6 separate regions of the Homo sapiens genome follow, and regions 2, 3, 4, 5 and 6 are each linked to region 1. The links are contacts of gene promoters, found by promoter capture Hi-C in blood cells and fetal thymus (Javierre and others, 2016). All regions are on one chromosome and are shown on one strand. Each heading gives the region's core, a stretch centred on a gene start or on the middle of the fragment in contact. The rest is flanking DNA. Distances are from core to core; before and after follow the strand shown.

Region 1 (4,320 bases), core at 571-3,070:
TCACCATGTTAGCCAAGCTGGTCTCGAACTCCTGACCTCAGGTGATCCACCCGTCTTGGCCTCCCAAAGTGCTGGGATTACAGACGTGAGCCACAGCGTCCGGCTTTTTCTATGCACTTTCTTACAGATATACTTATTGAAGGCTTTGGAAAATCCACCAAATTAAAACTAAACATTGTGCATAATAAATCAGCACTCACATTTTAGGGTGTTTTGGCTTTAAGTGCTTGATTTTTGCAATCATTAACTTCACCATCAACAGCATCTGTGGCATATTAAGCTAAATGCGATCCTTGCTCTTTAGAGGCCAAAATAAACATCAATGTTAACAAACCCACACAGTATGCACAAACAGAAATGTGATTTGGTATATAAAGAAATAAGATAGCAACATTTGGTAATCAAATTAATCTAGGTAATAGTCTCTCTGAGGCTCTGATATACCCGACAGGCAAGGAGGGTATACGGCAGCTATTCCTAAGAGCCAGGAAGTCTTCCTCAGCGATGGGTCTCCAAAAGGTCTGGAGGATGTTGCCTCCGTGTTGAATTAGTCATCAATAATCGATTTCTCTGTTCATGACTAACTGGAGATCAGAATGAGCTCAGGATCAAGGACTAGGATCGTTAAAGGACTCATTTTTTTAGTGTCTCAAACTTCTTTGGTCACTTACCAATTTCCATTACTGATTCAGCTACAGCTCCCCTTTCCCCTCCAAAAACCAAACGTGTCAGCTGTAGGAAGAAGTGCGGCTCTCCTAGCCTGGGCATAGGGACTCGCCTGGGCATAGATAATGTACTTGTGGCTCTGTGGTTGGGAGTGGAGACAAGGAACTCCCCAACACCGGTGGGGGAGAAGAGACAAGGAAGTTGCCCCAGACAAGGGGCTGGGGGAGGGGCATTTCCCAAAAGTTCCTGTCAAGAGACCAGTATACCGGGTGGAACTATAAGAGTTGTTTGGGTGTGGCGGGACCAGGAAGAGAGAGAGAGATGCCCAGGGAGTTGGCAAATTGGGGAGAATGGCTCCCCGGAATCGCCCAGGAGCCAGAGCGGCAGCTCCAGGGACCTTGACTCCGACGCCCCCGGGAAGCCAGAGCTCCACTTCCGCGTTTGGCATTGCTCCCCCAGGCCCCTCCTCGCACTCGGTTACGGGTTCTACGGGCGCATGCGCCGCCACTCTGGGACTGGCCCAATTTACCCTACACAACTAATCTGCTCCTCCCCCTCCCGCTTGGAGCGCACCATTCGCGTTTAGGGGGAGGCACCGCGCCCCGGAGTACTCAGAAACCTGCTCCCCTTCTTCAGACAGGGGGAAGATAAGTTTGCTTCAGATTCTAAAAGTTCTAAGAATACGAAGGCCTCAGCCGCCCGTCGCCGGGCGACAGCCCGAGGCTCTCGTTTTCTCCCACAGCCCCGCACTCCGCCTTTGAGGCGCGGAACGAAGTGGCACGCCCGGATCCCAGCTGATCAGCGGCTGGGCTTTGGCGTTGGCTCCCCCGGGCGAGACCATTGTGACTCCTCGGGAGGGGCGCACGCCGGGGAGGGGGCGGAGCGGCCATTGTCCGGTCAGCGCAGCCTCCGGGGGAGGGGACGGTGTTACGGAGACAGCAGGGCCCGGGGCTTCAGAGCGGCCGCTGCGACTCCGGAGCCGGCGGGGGGCTCCGGTCCTTCCCTGCGCCACCGCACAGGACATCTCTCTGGCTGGGGAGCGGCGGTGAGACCCGCCGAGGGCGTCTGTGTCCCTCCTCCCCCGCGGTCCTCGGTGCGTCCGCACGCCCCTCCTCCTCGGCTCCCTCCTTCTTCTCTCCGCGCCTCTCCGCCCCCTCCCCGTCTCCGCAGGCCGAGTGGTGCGGCCCGCCTCCAGCTGACCGGCCTGGAATCCCGGCTCCGAGCCCCGGACTCGCGCCCGCCCGCGCGCCCGCTCCTTCCCCCTCCCCCCGCCCCGAGCCCCCCGACGCCGCCGCCACCGCCTCCTCAGAGCGGGGCCCGGGCCCAGCCGCCGCCACCGCTGCCGCCGCCGAGCTCCGCCGCCGCCGAGCACCATGGGAGACGCTGGGAGCGAGCGCAGCAAAGCGCCCAGCCTGCCGCCTCGCTGTCCCTGCGGCTTCTGGGGGTAAGTGCCCGGCCGGGTGGGGGCGGGGGGCGGGGGCCGGGGGCGCAGACGCCAGGGCAGCCTGGGCAGGCCTCGGGGCCCGGGAGGCCGGAACCTTGGAGGCTGGGCCCAGCCCGGGCCTACGGGGAGGGGGTGGGGGTCGCGTTCCGGGGAGGGGTGCCGGGTGGGGAGCTGGGGGTGGGCAGAGAAGGCCCTGCCGGGGGTGCGTTGCTACCCTTTGGGACTCGCCGGCCTGAAGCTCGGGCCCACGGGGGCCTCCTGGGCCACGGGTGAGGGGGGCAGGGCGGCGGGGAGGGATGAGGGGGCGGCGTTGACCGCTCCGGGAGGAGCAGGGGTGCCCCTTCCGTGGGCATGTGGAAGCCAGCCCTTCCTCCCTCCCGGGGCGTGAGTTGGTGCCCAGGCACTAGGAGGGTATTTCCTCTGACTTCTTCACCTCCCCTCCTCCCCGTCCTCCGGAGACTTGCATCATCACTTCCTAGATTATATCCCAGTGCCCCATTTGCTTTTAGGAAGCTATTCACACGTCACCCGTTTGTAAAAACCGAGTCCAGAACCAGGCTGGGGTAAAGTTATAAGATTGTTGAGGTCTCACCTTCATGTAAAACACGTTTCAGGAGATATGTAAAATTTCCTTGTCAAAAAGGAAGAAAAAAACCACACAAAACCTGAAGTCAGCCTGGATTGGGGAATATGAGATCCAGTTTCCTCAGTTGGCTCTCAAATTCTCCTCTTTCTCAATTTAAGTAAAAATGATAAAAATGTTGACAGTGGGTAGCATATATTGTTTGGCCATCATGTGTTAAGGCGAAAAAAATGTGAGGTGGGAAATCAGCTCCTCTTCCTCCCCCCATTACTGTTTAAATTCTCCTGGTAACACTTTAAGCTTCATGGATTGCCACCTAACAGGTGCCTCCATCATACCACATGACTGTAGTTCTGCAGTAAGAAAGCTGGAGACTTTGAAGGCTGGCTTTTGTGATTTGAGTCCCTTTTCTCTTTTATCGTTTTGTTTTAGTTTTATTTTTTGAGAGATTCCGTATATTTGGAGACATAGAGGCAGGAAGGAAGATTGTTTCTGGTGAGGACATCTTGGGAAGAAGTATGGAAGTAGTTTTCCCTTTGCTATCTCCCATATTGTAGGAATGGTTAACAGAAATTAAGAGTAATTTTGGGAGTGCAGAGAAAGATTAGAAAGTGGATCTTAATGTAGACTTCTGTGGAAGTTGTCGTATCTCAAGGTTATGACAAAGAAGTGGATTTTCATTTTCTCATTTTTCTGCCTTTCTCAAAAATTTCCCTGTGGAAGGACATTAGTCAAAAATAAGTTGTGGCATATAAAAAGTCCTAAAAATGTGAAAATATTTCTAGTCTTCCCTTCATTTTGATTTGAAAATAATTGGTTTGCCTGTGAAGTGCTTTCATGGACTGTCTAATTCCCACAAGAATCTTGCGAGGTAGGAACCATTATCTCATTATTAGCTGGGGAAACTGAGGCTTTGGGTGGATAATTTGCCGCTTCACACAGGGAGTGTAGGGTGGAGCTGGTGAGCTCTTTAGAGTGCGTAGTACCATCATGTTTATGGTATCAGTCTGCTGCCCTGGAAAAATCTTGTGTCACAAGCCTCAGATTGTAACTCATTGTAAGACATATGTCCTAAAGAAAGTCGCTGCCAGTGGCAGCTAATGCTCAGGATGTATCAGGTCTCTTTCCTGGCAACACGTTTATGTCCTTCGGACTGTTACCATGAATGGAATCTTTATCGAAAGACTTATATCAAGGCTTAGAAACTAAGGAAATGGAATAGCCTTTTACCTTTATTTATTTATTTATTTTTGAGTCGGAGCCCTGCTCTGTTGCCCAGGCTGGAGTGCAGTGGCGTGATCTCGACTTACTGCAGCCTGCACCTCCCGGGTTCAAGCAGTTCTCCTGCCTCAACCTCCCAAGTAGCTGAGACTGCAGGTGCACACCACTATGTCCGGCTAATTTTTGTGTTTTTTAGGAGAGACGGGATTTTGCCATGTTGGCTAAGGTGGTCTCAAACTTCTGACCTCAGGTGATCTGCCTGCCTTGGACTCCCAAAGTGCTGGGATTACAGGCATGAGCCACCGCGCCCGGCCAGCCTTTTACCTTTAGCCGGTAGGGTTCTGATAATGCCAATAGAGTTTGGTGGCAGCAGACAGGAAAAGTTACACTAATGTTGTACTTGACC
Region 2 (4,320 bases), core at 780-3,279, 890 kb after region 1:
ATTTTTAAATCTACCTGTGGCCTGGAAGGCCCACCCCCATGTATTATGTCTCCCTAAAATGTATAAAAGCAAGGTGTAACCTGGCCACCTTGGGCACATGTCATCAGAACCTCCTGAGGCTATGTCATGGGTCCATCCTTAACGTTAGCAAAATATTTGCAAAATAAACTTTCTGAATTGATTGCAACCTGTCTCAGATACTTTTGGGTTCACAGTTGCTTAGGTTCTTATTGTCAGGTTTTTCAGGTTTCTGCACTGGCAGAGATTTTTGTTTGCAAGTAGAATGGACCACACTAAACAAGATATAAATGTGCCATTACAGCCACAAACTGATAATCCTTCAAGAAAAGCTCAAAGGAATGAGCTGTGGATAGTTATTTAATATTATATATGTTTTACTTGAATAACTGGTTACTTAAATTGTTATTTGATAATATGACCATGTGGTACTTTAGGATAATTATAACATAGCAAATATTGCTAATCTGTGCACCTTAATTGCATATTCCCTACAACACCTAGACATTTCCAATTGGTTGTTTTGACATTTTTATTTCGGTCAATAGTATCATCTTCCTCTCAATTGATGAGGCTTGAAACCAAACTCGTCATAGAGTTAGACATTTTTCGAACTGGAAGGGAACTTAGAGATTATCTCAACTCCCCCATTTCTTTTTACAAATAAGGACATCCAGTAATAGAGCAGTTTCACAATCTGAGGCTTAGTCGACTAAACGGTTATTTGTTGAGTAGCACAGTAACAGGACTCAGTTTCCCTGATTACCGGTTCAGTATTTTTCTTCACTACACACACTAATACTAAACTACTACAAATAACAGCTAGCATTGATTTAGCCATTACCATGTACTACTGTGCTAAGTGTTTTTATATGTGTTCCCTCATTGTATTTTCGGGGACACTTAATACTCAGGATCGTGGGCACTTAATGTCTTATATAAGTGCTGCATGGGGTTTACCTTCTGTTAAGCCTCAAGAGAACTCTGTGGAAGGTACAGTTTTCCTGTATCTCAGGCATTCTCAGGGTTGCTATCATTTGGCAGTATTCCATGAAGCTAGTTTTCTGCCAGAGTTAATGAAACTATTGCATGGATCACGGTGCTACAAACCTAATACAGCAACACATGTCTTTAGAACCAAAGCTCTGTCCATATTTAGTATTATTTCTTAGGAATATATTTTCAAAAGAGGCATTTGTAGGTTAAGGCATATGAATGAATATATTTAAGGCTCTTTATTAAGGAATATGGTATTCTGGTTTGTTTCTTACTACATGAGAATAGAGAGACAGCATAGGGACAGGAAAAGAAGGCAAGTATAAAACCTGCCCCAGCTCCATCAGTGCCAAAAGTAAACAATGAGATTCGATGGACAAGAGGTAGAGCACTTGTCCTCAACACTACCTCAACAAATGGCAGGAGTATCATATGGGAGGCCGGTTCCCCCAACCCCAAGTCCCAATGGGCAACCCCGTGGACCCAGATGCAGGCAGTGGACTGGGAGGCAGGTAAAGAATCTAGGGCTAAGTGCTCAGTATCTTTTGTATCGAGCAGTAAACAAGCTAGTCCCTCTCCCCAGGAAGTGAGCAATTGTGCCTTTTCGTGCCGTGGTTGCTGTGGCCTGCTGAGTTGCCTAAAGATTGGTTAAGGAAGTGGCTCAGAGTTAGAGGGTAGGTAGGTCTTGCATTTCGGCACAGTCAGCAAGGATATTCAGGAACTCCCTTGCTCCCATAAGCTTATATTGTATAATCACTGAGTAATGTCTATTAATATGGATGGACCATGGTTTATTTAATTTGTGATTTTTTATATTCATTCTTGTTTTTTTTTTCAGTTGACAGACCTTTCAGTCCTCATTCCACATTGATCTGCTCTACATTCAAAGACTGACTTTCACACCTGTAAGACAAAATAGTTTATGTAAGAAGCTATATTTGCTCATTCTGCTTGCCAGCAGAATGTCAGAGAATTCTTTGGCAGCTACATTTCACAAATCCCCTAACTCAGTGACTAAGTGCAGCCCCTGGAAGAATGCCCCTGAAGATGATAACATCTCTTGCATGAATCTTTTCTTGCAAAAGTTCCAGGATCCTAACTCATGCCTCTTCCTGTACATAATAAGATAATAGCTGATAGGATTAATGATTATGCCTCTACAATCTATAACCAGATGTACCCTTGAACCCCACCCTTGATGAGATTTTGCTCTAATGTAACTGCTGAGCTCATTTGATGTAACTGCTGAGCACATCTGATGCCACTTCCCATCACATGCCACCACCTGTACCTAAGCTTTGGAGCAGTCTCACAGAAAGTCTCTGAAAGACTCTCCGGATTGCAATCCTTAGTAAGACATCTGAATAAAACTAATATTAATTATTTAAATGACTGATTTTTTTTTCTTTGGTTAACACACCCAACTAAAAACGGACCGCTCACATCATGTCAGGCAGTCACAGCAAAAGCAGAACCGTACTAGAGAGGGGAGGGGGTGGACTTGGGAGAGAAGTCAGTTTTCCCCCAGAATCTTTCTCTCTCATCAGTCACAGGTTTCTGAACACACTGACTCACCAGGAAACACTTTTTAGGTTCTCAAGGAAAACACTAAGTAACTTCAGAAACTGTAAAGGTCATAGAAAACATTATTTTATATATTTCCGTATTACCACGTATACGCGGGAATCCTCCCAAGCCCCTGGCACCGCACTCCAAATGTCCATCTCCAGGAACCCGCCCTTCAGTGCCTGGGGTCCCCTAAACAATGTTTCAGTCCTCGGGCTCGGTGGGTGCATCCTTTATTGGGGAGCGCGGGGGCTGCCCGTGCCCCTCCAGTCGCTCCCCGTAGGGAGCTGCGCACTGCGGAGCCCTCGCCCCCGAGCGAGCCTGTCTCGGACTCCCAACCGTCAGCCTCGTTCCGGGCCGCGGAGGCCGGAGCAGCTCCCCCGGGGCAGCGCAACCGCTGGGGCCGGCCTCAGTGGGCTGAGTGGTCGGGGCATCGGGGCCCAGAGAGCGGCTGGTGAGTACTTGGTCGGAGCGCGCTGTGAGCGCCCGGCCCCTGTCCGGGAGGCCCTGATGCAGCCGGGTTCCCCGCCCACTTTCCTTCTTTTTAGGGGACTGGAATCCACGCTACAGTTCAGTCCTCCACCTCTGTTAGTTGAACCCAGGGAACCCCTGCTTCAAAACCCCAGCTGAGTCACTACCCTTTGTCAGTCTCTACACTGGACATCTAAGTGACTTCACACCCACTCCCCGTTTTGAGACTAGAAAACCAAATACCGCACGTTCTCACCTATGAGTAGGAGCTAAGCTATTGCTACGCAAAGGCATCCAGAGGGGTATAGTGGACTTCGGAGACTCAGAAGGGGAAGGGTGGGAGGGGGGTGAGGGATGAAACAACTACATATCGCTTGCAATGTATGCTACCTGGATGACCCTGAAGTCTCAGACTTCACCACTATCCAATGCATCCATGTAAAAAAACCACCTGTACCCGAAAAGCTATTAAAATAAATAAATAAATAAATAAATATATATATATATATATATATATATATATATATATTTTTTTTTTTTTTTTGAGACGGAGTCTCACTCTGCCGCCCAGGCTGGAGTGCAGTGGTGCGATCTCGGCTCACTGCAATTTCTGCCTCCCTGGTTCAAGCCATTCTCCTGCCTCAGCCTCCCGAGTAGCTGGGGCTACAGGCACCCGCCATCACGCCCGGCTAATTTTTTTTGGTATTTTCAGTGGAGACGGGGTTTCACAGTGTTAGCCAAGATGGTCTCGATCTCCTGACCTTGTGATCCGCCCACCTCGGCCTCCCAAAGTGCTGGGATTACAGGCATGAGCCACCACGCCCGGCCATATACCTATATATTTTTAAAAATTCAAAAATAAAACAAAAAAAATGCCTCTCCCTCCGGCTTATTTCCCGTTCCTCTACCCTTCTCATTCCCCTCTAGCCCAAAAGTCTCATCACTGAATTTACCACTTTTCCCAAGATAGTTGTGCCTCTTTTTGCTTCTCTGCTTTTGTACGCCACTGTTCCCACCTTCTGCCTATAATGTTTCTCTCTCCCATCCTCTCCTGACAACTCTTCTTTAGACCCGACTCGGGTGGTACCTTCTCCGTCAAGTTTTCTTTCTTTCTTTTTTTGTTTTTCAGAAGTTTTGCTGCCTGCTAAGCTCTCTTAGCCCTTCGTTAATTCACCTGTCATTGACATTGACCATCTTGTGTTGTATTCAATAGTCTGTCACACCAATTTGATTGTGCATTTTGCTTTGGAGAAGTCCTTAGTCTTTTAT
Region 3 (4,320 bases), core at 1,195-3,694, 830 kb after region 1:
TGAATCCGGGAGGCAGAGGTTGTGTAGAGCCAAGATCTCGCCATTGGACTCCAGCCTGGGCAACAAGAGCAAAACTCTGTCTCAAAAAAAAAATTAAAATAAGTAAATAAATAAAAATAAAAAATAATAAGATAGACCTGATTGTGGTGGCTCATGCCCCGTAATCCCAGTGCTTTGGAAGGCCAAAATGGGAAGATCACCTGAGGCCAGGAGTTTGAGACCAGCCTGGGCAATATAGCCAGACACCCATCTCTACAAAAATTTTCTAAAAATTAGCCAGGTGTGGTGGTGCGCACCTGCAGTTCTAACTACTTGGGAGGCTGAGGCAAGAGGATTGGGTGAGCCCAGGAGTTTGAGGTTACAGTGAGCTATTACCAGATTACAGTGAGCTATGACTGTGCCAGTGCACTTCAGCCTGGGCAACAGAGCAAGACCCTAAAAGCTAGATATAAATATATTGTAAGTATAATACAATATACTATAACAGAATCTGTATGAAGTGAAATGAGGGATATATAAAGTGATACAGATAAGGGCGCAGTTAGCTCTATCTAATGGAAGTCAAGAGTGTTGTACTTACCTACACTGTTAAGTAAACACAGTATGCCTCAAAAATGGACACAAATATATTAAGGCATTTCCATGGAGGTAAAAAAAGAACAGGAGAATTGTGCTAAACCAGCGTTGTCACCTAACATTCCTTCTAGGTAGTTTTGTTGTGATCTAAATGAATATTTATATATAACTGTTTCTAAACTAAAATTGGTTAGTTGTTAAAATGGACACAAATAAAAGTTAAATGCAAGAATAATTTATATTTTTCCAGTAGATTCAAGAGGAAATATTTTTTGTCACTAATGCCATGCTTTAATACATTTGCTTGTCTAATCCTCATGTATTATCTTACTTAATTTTGTAAACATTAGCTTATTGTATAGATCACTGACAAAGTATCTGTTTTAGCAGATAGGGACAAAGTTTAAATAATTTGGCCAAGGTCATAGTAGACCAAGATTTGGACCCAGCACAAGCATCCTCTTTCCAGGAAACCTTCCCTCAGGCCCTTAGTTGGTTTAAGTGCCCTCTCTCTGTACTATTAGCATATGCACACACATTCATTTTAGCGTTGACTTTAATAATAAGGATGTTTACCATGTACCAGATACATAGTACTTGCACCTATGTTATCTATGTTTAAGTGTTTTGTAGGCATTAGTTCATTTAAGCCTCATAACTGCCCTTTGAAGTAGGTGATATTATTCACAATATTTTATAAAACAGGAAGCCAAGGCATAGAAAGTTAAGTAATTACTCAAGGTACAATTAATAAGTGATAAAGCTAGGATTCGAATCCATGCTTTTAACCCCCCAGGCTTCATACTATGTACCCTTTCCCTTATACTGAGGAATTCTAGAAGGCATAGTTGACAGGTTGTTGTGTGTGATATCACTCTGTGTTCCTCATATGAACACAAGAGAATTTTCTCTCTGAGCCACAAGTCATGAAATATTTGGCTACCCTTGAGTAACTGATGTGTTTTCTCTTTATAGGCAATGTGAATTATATAACTGCCTGTTTTTCACTTTTCACTTTGCCAAGAAGCTCTGAGTAAATTTGTTGGCTCAGCGTTTGTAAGTGGGTGAATTGGCCTGCATATCTGTATTCTGTTGCTTTGAAATTTTTAAAAATAAATAGTTGAGAGAAAAATAATGTAAATTTTCTTTATTTTCCAAATTGTTGACAATGTACAATGATAATTTTTATAATTAGAAAAATAAACTTTGTTCTTAAAAGAACGTTTGAAGCTTCAAATGATTTCTCATGCTTTGACTCTGTGAATAAGAGCTGGTTTCAGGTTAAGTTGCATGAGTTAAATATAGAATCCAGGTTCATATAAAACCAAGACTTCTGTATGACCTGGAAAGTCCAGATCAATAGAATTGTTCAGACGGATCAAAAAGTATTTTAGGTAGCATAAAATAGTTGTAGCCCTTCTTGTTTTTAACTTATGTTTAAGTAATTTGAAACCACTTTTAGGTTATTTGGACACATGCTCCCTCGCTTTAGAAATCAAAAAACCCATTATCTTCCTATATGCTGATGATATTTTATTATAATAAACTTTATGGCTGATTTTGTTGCTCACCGTTTATCAGAAGGAATGGATCAAGATCACCTGTTCCAAAACTAAAATAATTTTTTAGGGCACATGTCCTCAAATTTAATTGGCTTAGATCCAGTAACTAAATACCACGTTAATTTATTTACTTAAGGGTATGTTTTGCAAGTAATTCTTCCAGGTAGATTTACTGGCCAGCCACTTTGCTAAAAGCCATACATTTCATGGGAGCATTAATTAGATTTTCCTACCGTCAGAGTGAGCAACTGATCATTTCTTCTTTGAAAAATTTCAATCCAAATTTTGATCATTCTCCAACAGAGCATTCTAATGCCTAAATGGCCTAGGCAGGTGGGTAAGTACTCTATACTCAGCCCAGCAGATTGTTGCTATGTGGTATAAGCATCCAAAGTTGCCAGATTTGAAATCTGTTGACCTCTAAATATTGGTAACTAATGGGAATTTTTTTTAAAGAAAAGAAAAACATGACTTGTCTGTGAGTTCGCAGACCTCTTGCTCTATTGGATGGAACTTGATGGTCTTGAACACTTATTTTTTTTATTTTTGAAGTGTTGTTTTTTTAAGGAAAATCCTAGATTGCCTGCAGGGGCTCTCTCTATTCACTACCATATGGAGAGGAATGTTCCTATTTAGGTGAGAATCTTAATAGGGTGACTCACTCTTCACAAAAGGCTGTCAGCCCTCTACCATCTGCTTTTTAGATTACTGAATTCTAAACAGTATGTATCTGCCTTTAGTCAGCCACACAATATTAGCTGGTCCATCAGGACACTGCATACCTGACCATATTGTCCTGAGCACACACACAGAAACTTTCCTCATCCACCACCAAGAGTGTTTTCATGGCTTGTATTTTGAGTATTGTGTCTTCTGCATATGTTAAGCAATTCTGGAAGAGACAACTCCACAGAGCCCACCAGTGCATTGTGTGGGCAAATAGGCAAAGCTTCCCCTCTGCCCTCTGAAGCTGTGCTGAAAATGAACTGACAATATGCAGATTAGGAGAAAAGGGTATGCAAATTTATTAACGTGCATAAGCACAGGGGAATCACAGGAGAATGATTATCCAGTAACACAACGAGGTCCAGATGCTTATATACCCTTAATAAGAGAAGGAGAGATGGGGGAGATGTGGTAATTTTAAGGGACAGTAAGTTATTTTTAGGAGGAATAAATGGCTCCAATGCTCAGGCAATGGTTAGTAAATGATTCTCTTTGGGAATTGAGTGGGAAGGGAAAGTGGATGATAGTTTGGGACAAAGTTTGGGCTCTACATGTGGTGTTTAATTTTCAGTCTCTTCCTCTGATGTGAGGTTTAATCTCTAGTTAATTTCAGGGAGGGAATCAAAGGCAATTGTGTTCCTCTTTGATGGGTCCAATTTATAGGTATATAAGGGAACTAAAGAGAAGAGCCTCATCCTGAGCTTTAGGAGAGATAAGATTGGAGATGGGATGTGGGTGAAGAGGTGTCAGATTTTGAAGCTGCTTCTTTAGTACTTCAAAGTGCCATATATTGGGGTATCATCTTCTAAGCTCCAATAGCTTTTACTATAGGATTGTTACTGTGCACTTGATCACATGAGAATTTTCTTTCAGAGCCAGGTATCATGAAGAGCTTGGCTACTCTTGAATAACTGATGTGTCTTGCTTACAGCAAGTGAATTGCATAGCTGGATATGTGTTCCTTTTCACCTTAGCTGCCATGAAGCTCTGAGTCAAAGTGTGGCTCCATTTTAGTGCCTGAGTAGAAACCTGTGGTCTGTATATCTGCATTCTAATTTGTTTTCTACTGGTACTGAACCTTGTACTTAAGTTTGGGTTTTCTCCTTCTCTGGTTTATCTATAATTTCCTTTTGCGACGGAATCTCACTCTATTGCCTGGGCTGGCTGGAGTGCAATGGCGAATCTCAGCTCACTGCAACCTCCGCCTGCCGGGTTCACGCAGTTCTCCTGCCTCAGCCTCCCAAGTAGCTGGGATTACAGGTGCATACCACCACGCCTGGCTAATTTTTTGTATTTTTAGTAGAGATGGGGTTTCACTATGTTGGCCAGACTGGTCTTGAACTCCTGACCTCATGATCCACCCACCTCGGCATCCCAAAGTGCTGGGATTATAAGGGTGAGCCACTGCACCCAGCCGGCTTACCTATAATTTTCTACATTCTGTTTGTAATTTCAC
Region 4 (4,320 bases), core at 1,343-3,842, 760 kb after region 1:
ATAATCCTCCCCTAGTCAGCTACTCCGAACCATTACATGCAGGTCCCATCCTGAACAAATCTATATTCCCCTGTCATAAGCCAAATTTAAATTTGAGATGCAGTTATTACTTGTACTGTAATATCAACAGGAACAATCTTGGAAGATTTAGGTGACCATAAATGTCATCCTGCAACCCACAGTTGTGACCAGAAAAGGTCAGCTTATTTTGTGTCATCCCCTCACTTTCTTTGCTGTCCCCTCACTCTCATTCATTTTATCACTCAGTCTCAAACTGGTTATAACCTTTTATTGAACTTCTCTGGGTTATCAGTAACAGAGGATATAATTTTACAACATGTCAGAATCTTTTTGGCTTAAGATTCTGAATTTTTCACCTTTGCTTAGAATGGTAACAATTTCTGTAAGAAAAGAACTGTTATGTGGTAAAGTTAAATCCCCCGTGAATGTAATGCACATACTGACACAAAGTGGCCTATAAATATTAACATCACAGAAACGATGACAACCACTTTGCTTCAAACATACTAAACTTTTCTTTTATTATTTTTATAATAACTTCACTATTAGTTAAATGAGTGAAATACGTAAAGCTTTTAGAACAGTGTCTACCACATAAAAGTAATGAAAGTACTGCATATACATATTATTATTATACTGTTATAATTAATCAGAGACTCTTGGAAATGAGATATGTGGATTGGCTCCACTTTGCCAATTAAAAACATCAAATTATATCCATAAGCTACATATCAGAAAATATATTCTTAATAAAAAGGAAACAGGAAAAGATAACCTGGGGATCTCACACATCATGTACATGGGAAATGCTGACTCACACTTCATAAAGCTTCCCCTCATACTTGGCTCAAATGGCCTAAAAGGCCAGTATAGTGGCAGTTGTGCTAACAGAAGAAACACACTACCTTGTAAGGTTTGCAGGGCATCATCATCATTACTATTTAAGCCCTTCATGCCCAGATCTGAAGAGGCATAAGTGGGGCACAGTTTCTGGGTATGCAGGGTTTAGGTTTATGATAAACAGCAATGAAGGAAACAGTTCAGTTCTTGTCACTCATACTGCTCTGGTACTTCTGCCATTATGGTTGAACCTAGAAGCCACAGTGGGTGAAAGCATCACAGTGGCTGGAAGAAAGGCAGAATTCTGAAGCCCCCAAGAAACTAAATGGGTTCCCAAACTGGAGTTCATTAAACTTTTTCACAAATTTCTTTTGTTTTGAGGATAATACTTATCTACACACTAAAAGACATTATTTCTCTTCACCATATGGTAAAATGCATTTAAAAGGTTATAATATTCAAAACCAATGAATCAAGTAAATAATGTTAACTCATGGTAGAATACAAAACGACTATTAAAAATACATTTTAGAGGAATATTTTTTAAAGGGTAGAGTGTTCACAATGTATTAATTTAAAAGTAAAATTAGCTTTTTGTATATCTAATCTTCATTTTATAAAACTATGTTTGTGCAGGTTTCTGTTTTGTGTGTGTATGTGTCCATGCATAATTGAAAAAAATGCTAGATACATATGAAGATTAATAATGGGTAATGAGATTACTAGCAATTTTTATTTTCTTCTATGTGCTCTTCTATATTTTCTATGGTTTCTACAATAAACACATATTTTTATAAGAAGAAACAAACAAAAAAGTGTATTTCTTTTAAAGAAATATATCCTTTAACTCCTTCCCCAAAACCAACCTTCAAGAGATAGCAGAATGATCACAAAGAAATAAACCATCATATCTGTAAAACAAAAGTAGATGACCACAAAGCTAAGTCATCTCAAACATAATGTCAGTTTCTAAGTCATGCTAATCACTTACCGGCTATCTCGGTCCCACAAGAGTATCCGTATGTGATTGATAATGGATGGCTGACCTAGCTTAATCTCGATGCCGGAACGGCAGTCATCATCAATTGGGTGCCTTGAAAATCCATGATCCAAATCATAATTTTGAGTATCACCATCTAATAAGGCTGATTTCAGCTCCCCCTTTACAACTTGGGCTCCATACTTCATAGTTGCAATGTTTTCTTCTGGTACTACAGTTAAAAATAGAAAAAGCAAGGTTAATGATTACTTATTTATTCTGTATTTTTTGAAAAAAATACAATTCTAGCATTCCAGTTTATTCTAGTATCTGCATTTAAGAACAGCATAGACAAGTTTATTGGATAGAAAATACAGAACATCTATGAGGATTAAGACACCATTCAGAGGCCGGGTGCAGTGGCTCATGCCTGTAATCCCAGCACTTTGGGAGGCCGAGGCAGGTGGATCACTTGAGCCCAGGAGTTTGAGACCAGCATGGGCAACATGGGAAGACCCTGTCCCTATTAAAAACAAACAAAAAAAATGTTCAGAGTTTAAATGTAATATTAGTATCACAACCACAAAGTGCTTGAGACTAATGTTATTTTTCAAAAGTTAATAAAACTAGAAAAGGCATGTACTAGGACAAACAAATCAGCTCTGCTGAGTTCATTCTACTAGTAACTTTAATATCTACTAAACAGGCGGGGTGCAGTGGCTCATGCCTGTAATCCCAGCACTTTGGGAGGCCGAGGTGGGCGGATCACCTGAGGTCAGGAGTTCGAGATCAGCCTGGGCAACACAGTAAAACCCCGTCTCAACTAACAATACAAAATTAGCCAGGCGTGGTGGCACATGCCTATAATCCCAGCTACTCGGGAGGCTGAGGCAGGAGAATCACTTGAACCTGGGAGGCAGAGGATGCGATGAGCTGAGATCGCGCCATTGCACTCTAGCCTGGGCAACAAGAGTAAATCTCCGTCTCAACAACAAAAAAATCTACTAAACAAAAATAGCATGTAAGATGACCTGTACCTGCCATCTGGACTGAGGACAATGTATAAAAGCAAAGCAAACAGGTCAGAAATCTGTTAAAACAACAGAAAAAGAAAGGTTCCAATATAGCATAGCTGTTAGTTATATATGAATATGCTGAAATTAATTAATCTAGCTTATAAAACAAGATCGTTTAAAAAAGATATCTTTTTTCTGCACTTGAGAATTTTTAAAAATGAAAATTGATAGTCTGTCATCAAAATCAGTATTATGGTTATTATTAAATCCCCTCCCCTCACCAACATTAGATTTATTAACCACCAATTGTGCCTGGGACTCTGAAGTCCTCCGTGTAAATTATGCTTCACAGATGTGGAACCTATCTTCCAGGTACTAACATTCTAAAACTGACACTCTCCATGGAAAGACAAGAGGCTGCAGAAAGATATTAAGAGCTTGAAGAGTCAGAGATTAAACAGTGGCTCCACATTTAGCCAGGTGCATCACTTTGAAGAAGTTTCCCTCTCTCAACTTCCATTTCTCAATGGGGTGGGGGGGAGACCATATCTATCCCCCAGGTGTTTCTGTTTAAGAATTAAATGAGATGATGTTTGTAAAGCATATTATGAGCTCTACTCATATATACATATATTTTCAAAATATACAGCCATTACTATTAAGAAAACATATTAAAAAGCACACGATAAGAGAACTATGTATGTTTACAGACTGTAAAAAAATACCGAATTCTCACAGTACACATACATTTTGGTTGTGTGATTTGAATACGGGAAAGTCTGGGCTATAATCAGGTTATTGGCAAAAAGATAGTAATTCATCATTGCAGATTTCTGGAAAAATTTTTTTTAATTTCAAATGAAGATGAGTAAAGAGAGTGGCACCAGAAAAGAACAATATATTGCAGCTGAAAAATGGAAGTTTAAAATGGAAGCAAAAGACTGTAGCAACCCAGCAAAAATAAACAAAACATCCTAGTTATGCTTAACTTCTTACCATCAGAAGTTTAAGTGCTATCGATTTATAACTTTCTAAATTCTATTAGCGTGTGATAATCACCCATATTCTTCCTATTTAACAAATCTTCTATAATACATGACGTGCTAGACACTGTCCTAAGCACTTTGCAAATATTAATTCCTTTGACTTACTCCTCATAATAATCCTTTGAGTACAGTACTATTATTACATCCATTTCACAGATGAGAAGTGGAGGCAGAAAAAAGTTAGACAGACTTACTTGTCCCAGGTCACAAAGCCAGGAAGTAGCAGAGCTGAGATCAGAACCTAAGCAGTCTGCCTGCAGAGGCCCTGTTTTTAACAGAATATTCTGCTCCTTCCCTCTTGAAGGGTTTCTGATGAATGGCCATACCTTCTCCCTCTTTCTAACCCCCACTTCCCTCTAAAATTGCCTTAGACCCAGAGGAAAGAAACAAATAGTATGATATAGGGGAAAAAAATGTT
Region 5 (4,320 bases), core at 1,262-3,761, 740 kb after region 1:
GAGGCTGAGGTGGGAAGATCAGTAGAGCCCAGCAGTTCAAGGCTGCAGTGAGCTATGACCATGCCACTGCACTCCAGTCTGGGTGACAGAGCGAAACCTTGTCCCTTAAAAAAAAAAAAAATCTAAGACTGATTACTAAACCATTGGGAACAGGAAGTTCTGGGTTCAATGAATTTCTATATATTTTTTCATACTGGACACATGAAAGACATTAAACAAAACACACTATTTACTAGTTTAGCCGTCTCAGTGTCAACTTTTCAACATTTTGATGAAAATTTTGATCATACTAATAAAAGAAACCATATGGTATTGAATATTTTCAGCATCTAAGAAGGTAAATCTCAGAGTCAAATCCTCAGACAAACATAAATTAAGATTTATGGCTAGCATGATATATGAGCTACATGATTTGCCATAAAATAGAGAAGAAGGAGTCAGTCACACATCATACTTTTGAGTGAAAAGCAATCTCACAACTATTAAGAGATTCATGATGTGCCTGTCACACAGATGCTATAGACAGCCACACAAATCCTGTGAATGTTTTGTCCCCAGATCAAGGGACTTATCTCAACTATACAGTGACTAATTCAACCCCTCTCAGAGGAATGAACTTTTCCAATAAAAGAAAAATAAATGGAAGTGCCAGCCACTTTAAATCAAGCACTTAACTAACGTGTTGCTATTTAAATTGTAGATAAATATTCTGGCCTAAGTTCAAGGGAGGCATGAATGCAAACGTGGGTCATAATGAATGAGCTCTATTTAGAAAATGGCTTTAAGGTATACATTTACTTTTCAAGTTCCCAAAAAAATAATCTTCTGATTTTATTAGAACGGAGCTTGCATACTGTTTGGAAGTTACCAGAAAATCAACTGTGCATTGTAATTTCAAGTGATATATGTTCTTTTCACAGATTTCAAAATCCCCAAAACACTGAATTCTTGGATACTATCACAACCTTGGGGTATTCCCCAGACTCTAAGACTTAAAAAAAAAATCCAAAAAGGAATGGTATCCTCAGAAATAATGGGCTTCCAGAAGCTTGGCTGTAGTGAAAGCAGCCAGCAGGGTATATGAAACTCCACTCTTGCTGTTGCAGCGGAGCCTGCCAAGTCTACCAGTAGGCCAAATTAAGGCTGGTAAAGTTACAAACACGTTTTCCTTTTCAAATGGATTAGGAAGCTCCAAAATGTATTCATCTTAGAGTGTGAGTAACATCAAAGCTATGGGTGATGCTACTAAAGAGAAACAAAGACTTCAAAAACAATATTGCTACAGTCCCCTCCAGTACCCCCAAACTGGAAATCTTTATTTATGTAATGCCTTTTGATTTAATGAGTGACCTGCAGTCCTTTCTCCAAGATAAAAGTATAATCTGCTGATTAGCTACTCTTCTAGAATAGATTATTGCTCATCAAGGTTCTGTTTCTTTGCCTCACTGGTTAAAAGACAATTTTACTAAGGATGACTCACCCCATCTCTAACTCTCCTTGCCTGTGTTTGTTGCTGCTGTTCGTTACCAGCAAAACTGGAGAGGGAAGACACACAGACACATAAAGACAAGTATATAACCCATTACAGGAGGTTCTCATTATTCCAGAACAACAATTACCTGAAAAAGGACATTTAAAGTGAATTCACTTGAAATAACGACCAAAATTCCATAGTGAATGTGGAAAAGGGGTTTCATTACATTAAAAATTGAGATTAAATGTAAGTATATATTTAATCTTCTACTTAACAAAACGTATGTAATAAATGCAACTATGTGCTAACCAAAATAGTAGTAGTAGCAGTAGTAGTGATAAACAGTTGTTAGATATCTTTTAGTTTTTCTAGCATTTCCTAACTTCCCCAGCACAATTACAGTGAAGAATATTCTTCCAAAAATACCTGGACATCACCAACATTCCTTTAATTTTTAATTGTCAGATTCTTCTTTTGAAATGCTTACCATGTCATCATTTTGGTGGATTTTCTCTTTCTCAATTATTCACTGGTCTCATGCTGCCAGAATTTTATTTGCCAATGGCTTCGTATGTCAGTCTGGCAGCTTTTCAACCTCACTTTTCTCTATTTCATGAAATCTTTATTTCTTGTATTTTTGCAAAATCTGCCATCTGACTTTGCAATTGAGTACACTGATTTTACATCTTCCGAACAATCAGTAAAACACTATAACTAATGGGATGGGCAGGAATAGAATTCACAGGGATGAATGTTTGAGTGGGAACTAATTTTACACGTGGACAGTTCATTAGTGAACATTTTTATACTATGATTACTTCTGTTTCCCTATGCAACCTTCAAAACTGCAAGGCTCGAGGTAATGAATATTCAGCTAACAAGGGCATCATATACGAAAGGCCACAGTCATCATGGAAATGCCTGTCTTTGGGAACTAGAAAGGTTTCTCAGGGAACTAGAAGCACATCCCAAGGTACATCCTAACATTCTACATTTTAATGTTTCCTGTCTGCATGGCCTATCATCATAGTATAAATAGACTAAATAAAATGATAACTAGTATGCATCCCACTATTTGATCATGAAAATGATTTCAATCTGGCACCATTCACTAACTATAACAGCAAAATTAAAATCTTGATTTATTAATTTAAGCATTCAAATGTATATCTGACAACTGCCAGATTCCAGACCTACTAAGGGGTCTGGAAAGTCAAATGGCAAATGCTTTTAGAAGATTAAGAGATATATAGCAAGCATATGGATATTATCTTTGTCCTATAAAGTGTGTGTGTGTGTGTGTGTGTGTGTGTGTGTGTGTGTGTGTGTGAGAGAGAGAGAGAGAGAGAGAGAGATTTGATCACCCAGGAGTAAAAGTTATTACTTCAGAATCCAAAGTCCAAAATAAAACATTTTTTTTTAATCTTTGAAGCCTCACACACAAAAAAAGATAATACCACAAGATGATAAACAGAGATGAAAAAGACAGCACTGTGTGTTTAAAAAGACCTTCGGCCGGGCGCGGTGGATCATGCCTGTAATCCCAGCACTTTAGGAGGCCGAGGCGGGTGGATCACCTGAGGTCAGGAGTTCGAGATCAGCCTGACCAACATGGTGAAAACCCGTCTCTACTAAAAATACAAAAATTAGCCAGATGTAGTGGCGCCTGTAATTCCAGCTACTTGGGAGGCTGAGGCAAGAGAATCGCTAGAACCTGGGAGGTGGTGGTTGCAGTGACCCGAGATCGGGCCATTGCACTCCAGCTTGGGGAACAGAGCGAGACTCCATCTCACCAAAAAAAAAAAAAAAAAAAAAAAAAAAAAAAAAAAAAAAAAGGGCCAGGCACGGTGGCTCACATCCTCACATCTGTAATCCCAGCACTTTGGGAGGCCACGGTGGGCAGATCATGAGATTGGGAGTTTGAGAACAGTCTGGCCAACATGGCAAAACCCCGTCTCTACTAAAAATACAATAATTAGCTGGCAGTGGTGGCAGGCGCCTGCAATCCCAGCTACTCAGGAGGCTGAGGCAGGAGAATCACTTCACCCCGGAGGCAGAGGCTGCAGTGAGCCAAGATCGTGCCATTGCACTCCAGCCTGGGCGACAAGAGCAAGACTCAGTCTCAAAATAAATAAATAAATAAATAATAAAAAGACCTTTAGAGTCAGACAGACCTCAGCTTCAGTCCCAGCGGTTATGTTCTAGCTGTGTGATTATAAGTTCAATATGCTCTCTAAGCCTCAGTTTCCTCATTTGTGAAATACAATAGTTGGACAATAATACTTATTTCCTGGGTAAGACCAAATGAAATACTCAGTGTCTGGAAAATTGTGGGCCTTACCTATGTTATAAACCATATCTTAGCTAATAAATAATTTTCCTCCTTCTTCCAGGCATTATGACAACAATGTAAACCTTCTACCTGTTTATAAAAACAAGGTATTAGGATATCACTATGAGGACTCTGTCAGAATCCCTTGATAACGCCAATATTATAAACAAAGCTTCCCAAAAAAACAGAGGTCCCAGACCAGGCACATATCTTCTAAGCCTTACAAATAAGGGGGGTAAAGTTATTTAGATATGAGAGTAGCTTCTTTCTCAGTGACAATGTATAACACAACCAACTGTGAAGTTGGACATAGCCAAGTTAGAATCCACTTTTCTGATTTTGAGATCTTAGAGAAATTACTTAACCTTTCTGAGGCTGTGTGAAATGAAGATAATAAATAAGGCCTGCCTCCAAGAGTTGTTTAACGAACTCTTGGTGGTTCATGCCTGTAATCCCAGCACTCTGGGAGGTCAAGGCAGGACAATTACTTTAGCCCAGGAGTTTGAGACCAGCC
Region 6 (4,320 bases), core at 885-3,384, 680 kb after region 1:
CCCTTTGCACTATTACACACTTCCACTTTTCTCTAACTCAGTATTAACTCTCTCAACACAATTCTCTTCCATTAACTCTGAGCAACATCTTACAGGGCAGGTGAGAGTGCCTGATCTGCAAATGCCTATCCATTGCTCTTAGCAAGATAAGGACAAGTCAAGAAAACCAGAAGCCCCGGAAGCGCATGCATGAATTCTTTATGATACCTGGCCATCTTAATTGAAGGCATCAAAAGTCTTAAAGGCTTAAAAATAACCCCAAAACAAATCCATCACTCAATGTCTTTAATGCCAGTGACAAGAACAGATGAGTGAATTCAGTTCCCAACTTGTGGGTCATAGGCGACATGGCAGGTACAGAGGCCAAGCACAGATATATCTGCAAAGGTTCTGCAGATCTCCATGGGTACAAAGCACTGGCTGAAGACCAAATGTTTAATGTATACAATATAGAGTATTCATTTTCTAATGAATTTTCTATCTAATGTCCATAGATATTGCTGTGATGAATAAAACAGAAATTTATTAAAACGAGAACAAAATTCACAGTTGCTTTTTGTTCACTTTCTCAATGGATGCTGTAAGTTAAAAAGTTAACTTACAGTTCTAAAAATTTTTTTAGGCCAAAATGAGCCTTCACATTGAAGAAGACAGAGAACACCTGACGCGAGTGTTAGTGCAGGTTGAGTATCCCTGATCCAAGCATCCAAGATCCTCCAGAATCTGACTTTTTTGAGTGCCAACATGATGAGCAAAGAAAATGCTCATTGGAGCATTTCAGATTTCAGGTTTTCGGATTAGGAATGCTCAACCAGTAGGTATAATACAAATATTCCAAAATCAAAAAAAGTTCAAAATCCTTAACACTTCTGGTCCCAAGCATTTCAGATAAGGGACACTCAACCTGTATCTTCAGTGCTTTCCACTTGGGCACATAGTAAACACTCAATACTTGTTGATCATAGATGTGAGTACATTTTTCTTGGCCCCTTTTTGCATCTAGTTTTTCTTTCACTGCAGTCCCTGCCAATTTACATCACCAATCCCATCCCTTGGTGTATAAGAGAGCAACAGTTCTCAAAATGTAGTCTGGGGACTCCTGGGAGTCCCTGAGACCCTTCTGGGAGGTCTGTGAGATCAAAACTTCTGAATTCAGAGAAGTTATTTACCTCCCATGTCTGTGCACTTGAGCTTTCCACAGGCTCCATCACCTGTTCTGTCACAACAGATTGAATGAGAAATGGAGAATCCAGCAGTCTTCTCTTTATTATGCCAGACATTAAGATTTGCAAGGCTACTCTCTCCATTAAATTAATTTTTAAATAGTTATTTTTCATCAAAAATGATATCTATATTGACATGTAATGGGTTTACTGTTGTATTTTTAAGACAACAAATAAATATTGACATATCCTGCATAAACAAAAGCTCTTTGGGGTCCTCAACAATTTTTAAGAGAATAAAGGGCTCCTGGGAACAAAAGTTTGAGAACTACTGGTATAGAGATAGCAATCTGCAATATCCTGGTGTCAATGAGAAGCTGGTTTCTATTGTCAAGAACTCTGCTAATCCCTAGAGATGCTGATGCTGGACACCTGCCAGATGGGGATGTTGTAAAGGGGATTCAAATGTTGGCTTGGGTGGCTGGGCCAGCTGCTCACCATGGTCTGTTCTAACAGAAGATTCTATAATTCTGTCTGAGAGGGAACCTAAAGAAGTCTTTCAGAGCTTTGGCTACTGACATGGAATATGAATAACACTTAATTTACCTTCATTTTGCTACCCACGAAACAATATGAGTACATTTTTTTTCCATGGTGTATTCTCTTCATTTTGGTATAATATTTCCAACATTTTGGAAGCAAGGTGATTTTTAAATTTTGCTTGTTGAGTTTTTATTAAAAGAAAAGCTTTCTCTTCCATGTCCAGCCTCCTACCATGTTCAAATCACAAAGACCAGTACCATTTGCTCTGAAGGGAAAGAATGCTAAGGGAAGAGGACTCTGAGAATGTCCTATAGACCAAGGTCAATAACGAGGCAAACATTCTGCTGACAGAAATCCCCAAGGCAAATACACAAATACCAAACCTGCAGAGATGAGCAGGATATCTTCATCTTCTGCGCAGGTCTTACTCTTGCGTAACACAGAAATAGGATGGCTTATCATTAATGAGCACACTGTGCCCACAGAAATGAATAAGTTGTTTAGAATATATGGCATCAGATTCATGAAGGGAAAGAGCTATTAGGAAAATAAAATGACCATACTTGTGCAATTTGATTCAATTCAATGAACGTTAACTGAGTGCCTGTTACATTCCAGCCATTATTCTAGGTGATCATGAAGAGAGGATAAATAAGCTTTACTGTCCAAGAACTCACACTCTGAAAGGGAAAACAGGTAAATCACTGTAACGCAATGTGATAAGTGATATAAAAGTAGGTGCTCCACACTATGGAAACAGATGAGAAAGCAATTAATTCAGTTTGGTGGAAATAGGGGAAAACTGACATTCTACGTGTAATGAAAAGGGAGGGAAGTGAGTTTATGCCTAACTCACTCTCCAATCTCAGCTGAGCCCTCACTATCTCCTCATGCTCTTTCTATGTGTCACTTCTATTATTCCATTCTCCACAGCAGCTACATCACACCTCCTCCATTCCTCTCATGTCTCCTACCCAATCCCCCATCGCCCTACTCTCAGCAGCTGTTCCCGCTGCCTTCTGCAGAAATGAAAGAGGAGGGGCAGCCTCTAGCCAACAACCCACAAACAGGGCTGCTGCCCTCCCCCTTCTCTCCAGGAGACGGCCCAGGCTAATCTCTCCACCAAGACTTTACAGCCCATCTACCTGTTCTCCCTTCTCAGGTAGCTCTGCTCTTCAACCTCTCCCTCTCCAACCTCTCTCTCTCCTGATTTCTTATCACTAGCAGTTAAACATGCTTCCCCAACAGCCCTCTCAAGTTACTATTTTTTTCTCTTAATGCCCCATAAATCCCAGAGCCAGGAGATAGAGGAGGCAGCTGTCCTTGTTCCCCCCTACTACTCTCAAACCACTTCATCCCTTTTTGCTTGCAACTCTCCCTGCCCTTTCACAGTTCTAGCTCCACCCACACCAGTCACCATTACCTACCAACTTCACACTCATCCCACCAAACTAAAAACTTACACTCCTGGCTCACTTTTCCTCCACTCCTACTGCTGGCATCACACGCCAACAATAATGCACACTATGTAAACAATATATTGGCCTCCCAGGTCCTTCATTTCCTCAACTACAGGGATCCTTTCTTCCGTTAAACCTCAGTGATTCAAATCCATGGGCAACTCCTTCAGTTGGTCAAGAAAAATCATAACTCTGCCAAAATCTAAATGCAAATATATCACACTCTAACAGCCCTTCCCATCCTTTCTATTCATTTGCTTTATTGTCTCCATTGCTAAAAATTCTTGCCCCTCTTTGAACCTTCTAATCCACTGATCCCGCCACAGTCTCACAACCCCTTTCTGCCCTCATTTCCCTCCTCTGTTCAGCTTAGATACTATGGTCTATATATAATCATTCCCTTGCAGAGTGCCCTCACTTCCCCGTCTGTCTCTTTCCATCATACATGCCTGGCAAACTTCAGCCCTAGATGATCTCAAGTATCCATCTTCTCTGGGCACAAACCCAAGTAACTGCATACGGCTAGAGAAAAATCACACAATTGGACTTCATTTCAAATGCAACACTGCTCAGCAATCTTACTACACTCCCGCTCCTACTTTCTAGGAATTCTTTTGTGCTTTGAGCTTTCCAAGTAACCTCCTCTTTAACTGATGATGGGCTATTATTTTACGGAGACTACAAACTTCCTCATGTTACCACTACCCAAACTACAAAATTATGGGCATCTATAATTTTCCTTCCTCCCTTTCCCTATGAAAGTCCAATCCCTCTACTGAACTTTAGACCACATCTCCTCTTACCTTTTGAGGACTTTGCACTGTCACTGTCAGTTAGATCCCTCTTCTCCTGTATCATAGATCTCTCATAAACTGCGGGTGAAATGTGGATTTTTTTAGGCTTTGGGGGAAGTTATTAACAATATAGTTTAAAATTATATAAAATACACCTATCTTTCAACCCAGGAAGCCCATTCCTAGAATGTTTCCTATATAAATACATTGTACCAGTGTGTAAGGATGAACACAGAGACAGAGAAACATGAATGTTTATTGTACTATTATTTTCAGTGACAAAAATGAAAACAAAGGGAATGTTCATCAATAGTGAAAGGTTGAGTAAATTGTGGTAGAAGCATCTATGAACCATCATAC

The links. The method cuts DNA at HindIII sites, captures the fragments that hold promoters and counts their contacts. A CHiCAGO score of 5 or more calls a contact.
Region 2: a contact is called between a fragment that was not itself captured here and the fragment with the promoter of ZFAND3 in region 1, in 1 of 17 cell types (total B cells). The highest score is 5.3, in total B cells.
Region 3: a contact is called between a fragment that was not itself captured here and the fragment with the promoter of ZFAND3 in region 1, in 1 of 17 cell types (naive B cells). The highest score is 5.1, in naive B cells.
Region 4: a contact is called between a fragment that was not itself captured here and the fragment with the promoter of ZFAND3 in region 1, in 1 of 17 cell types (naive B cells). The highest score is 6.1, in naive B cells.
Region 5: a contact is called between a fragment that was not itself captured here and the fragment with the promoter of ZFAND3 in region 1, in 1 of 17 cell types (total B cells). The highest score is 7.1, in total B cells.
Region 6: a fragment that was not itself captured here is called in contact with the fragment with the promoter of ZFAND3 in region 1 in 3 of 17 cell types (M2 macrophages, M0 macrophages and monocytes); the score reaches 7.3 in M2 macrophages.

Annotation. Positions count from the first base shown.
Region 1 is chr6:37,817,907-37,822,226 of GRCh38, forward strand. ZFAND3 (zinc finger AN1-type containing 3) reads left to right here and starts at 1,821. Exons shown (of 6, transcript NM_021943.3): 1 at 1,821-2,110. The coding sequence starts at 2,040. It overlaps ZFAND3-DT (ZFAND3 divergent transcript), which reads right to left and starts at 1,481. Exons shown (of 2, transcript XR_007059569.1): 1 at 672-1,481; 2 at 1-584. RefSeq lists enhancers at 1,028-1,417, 1,387-2,189 and silencers at 1,468-1,847, 1,888-2,117, 2,278-2,447. The HindIII fragment of the contact is 21,540 bases long and covers 1-2,991 here.
Region 2 is chr6:38,712,382-38,716,701 of GRCh38, forward strand. DNAH8 (dynein axonemal heavy chain 8) reads left to right here and starts at 2,930. Exons shown (of 93, transcript NM_001206927.2): 1 at 2,930-3,034. It overlaps DNAH8-DT (DNAH8 divergent transcript), which reads right to left and starts at 2,834. Exons shown (of 2, transcript NR_186581.1): 1 at 2,685-2,834; 2 at 1,789-1,917. RefSeq lists a silencer at 2,917-2,966. The HindIII fragment of the contact is 557 bases long and covers 1,752-2,308 here.
Region 3 is chr6:38,643,563-38,647,882 of GRCh38, forward strand. The region is part of intron 1 of LOC105375044 (a long non-coding RNA gene); the gene reads left to right. Among named protein-coding and RNA genes, the nearest start is that of BTBD9, 5.8 kb to the left of the region's middle. The HindIII fragment of the contact is 1,281 bases long and covers 1,805-3,085 here.
Region 4 is chr6:38,578,366-38,582,685 of GRCh38, forward strand. BTBD9 (BTB domain containing 9) reads right to left here. Exons shown (of 11, transcript NM_001099272.2): 5 at 1,853-2,072. Among named protein-coding and RNA genes, the nearest start is that of BTBD9, 59 kb to the right of the region's middle. The HindIII fragment of the contact is 3,488 bases long and covers 849-4,320 here.
Region 5 is chr6:38,553,748-38,558,067 of GRCh38, forward strand. The region is part of intron 6 of BTBD9 (BTB domain containing 9); the gene reads right to left. Among named protein-coding and RNA genes, the nearest start is that of BTBD9-AS1, 74 kb to the left of the region's middle. The HindIII fragment of the contact is 2,930 bases long and covers 1,047-3,976 here.
Region 6 is chr6:38,500,525-38,504,844 of GRCh38, forward strand. All of the region lies in intron 6 of BTBD9 (BTB domain containing 9), which reads right to left. Among named protein-coding and RNA genes, the nearest start is that of BTBD9-AS1, 21 kb to the left of the region's middle. The HindIII fragment of the contact is 452 bases long and covers 1,909-2,360 here.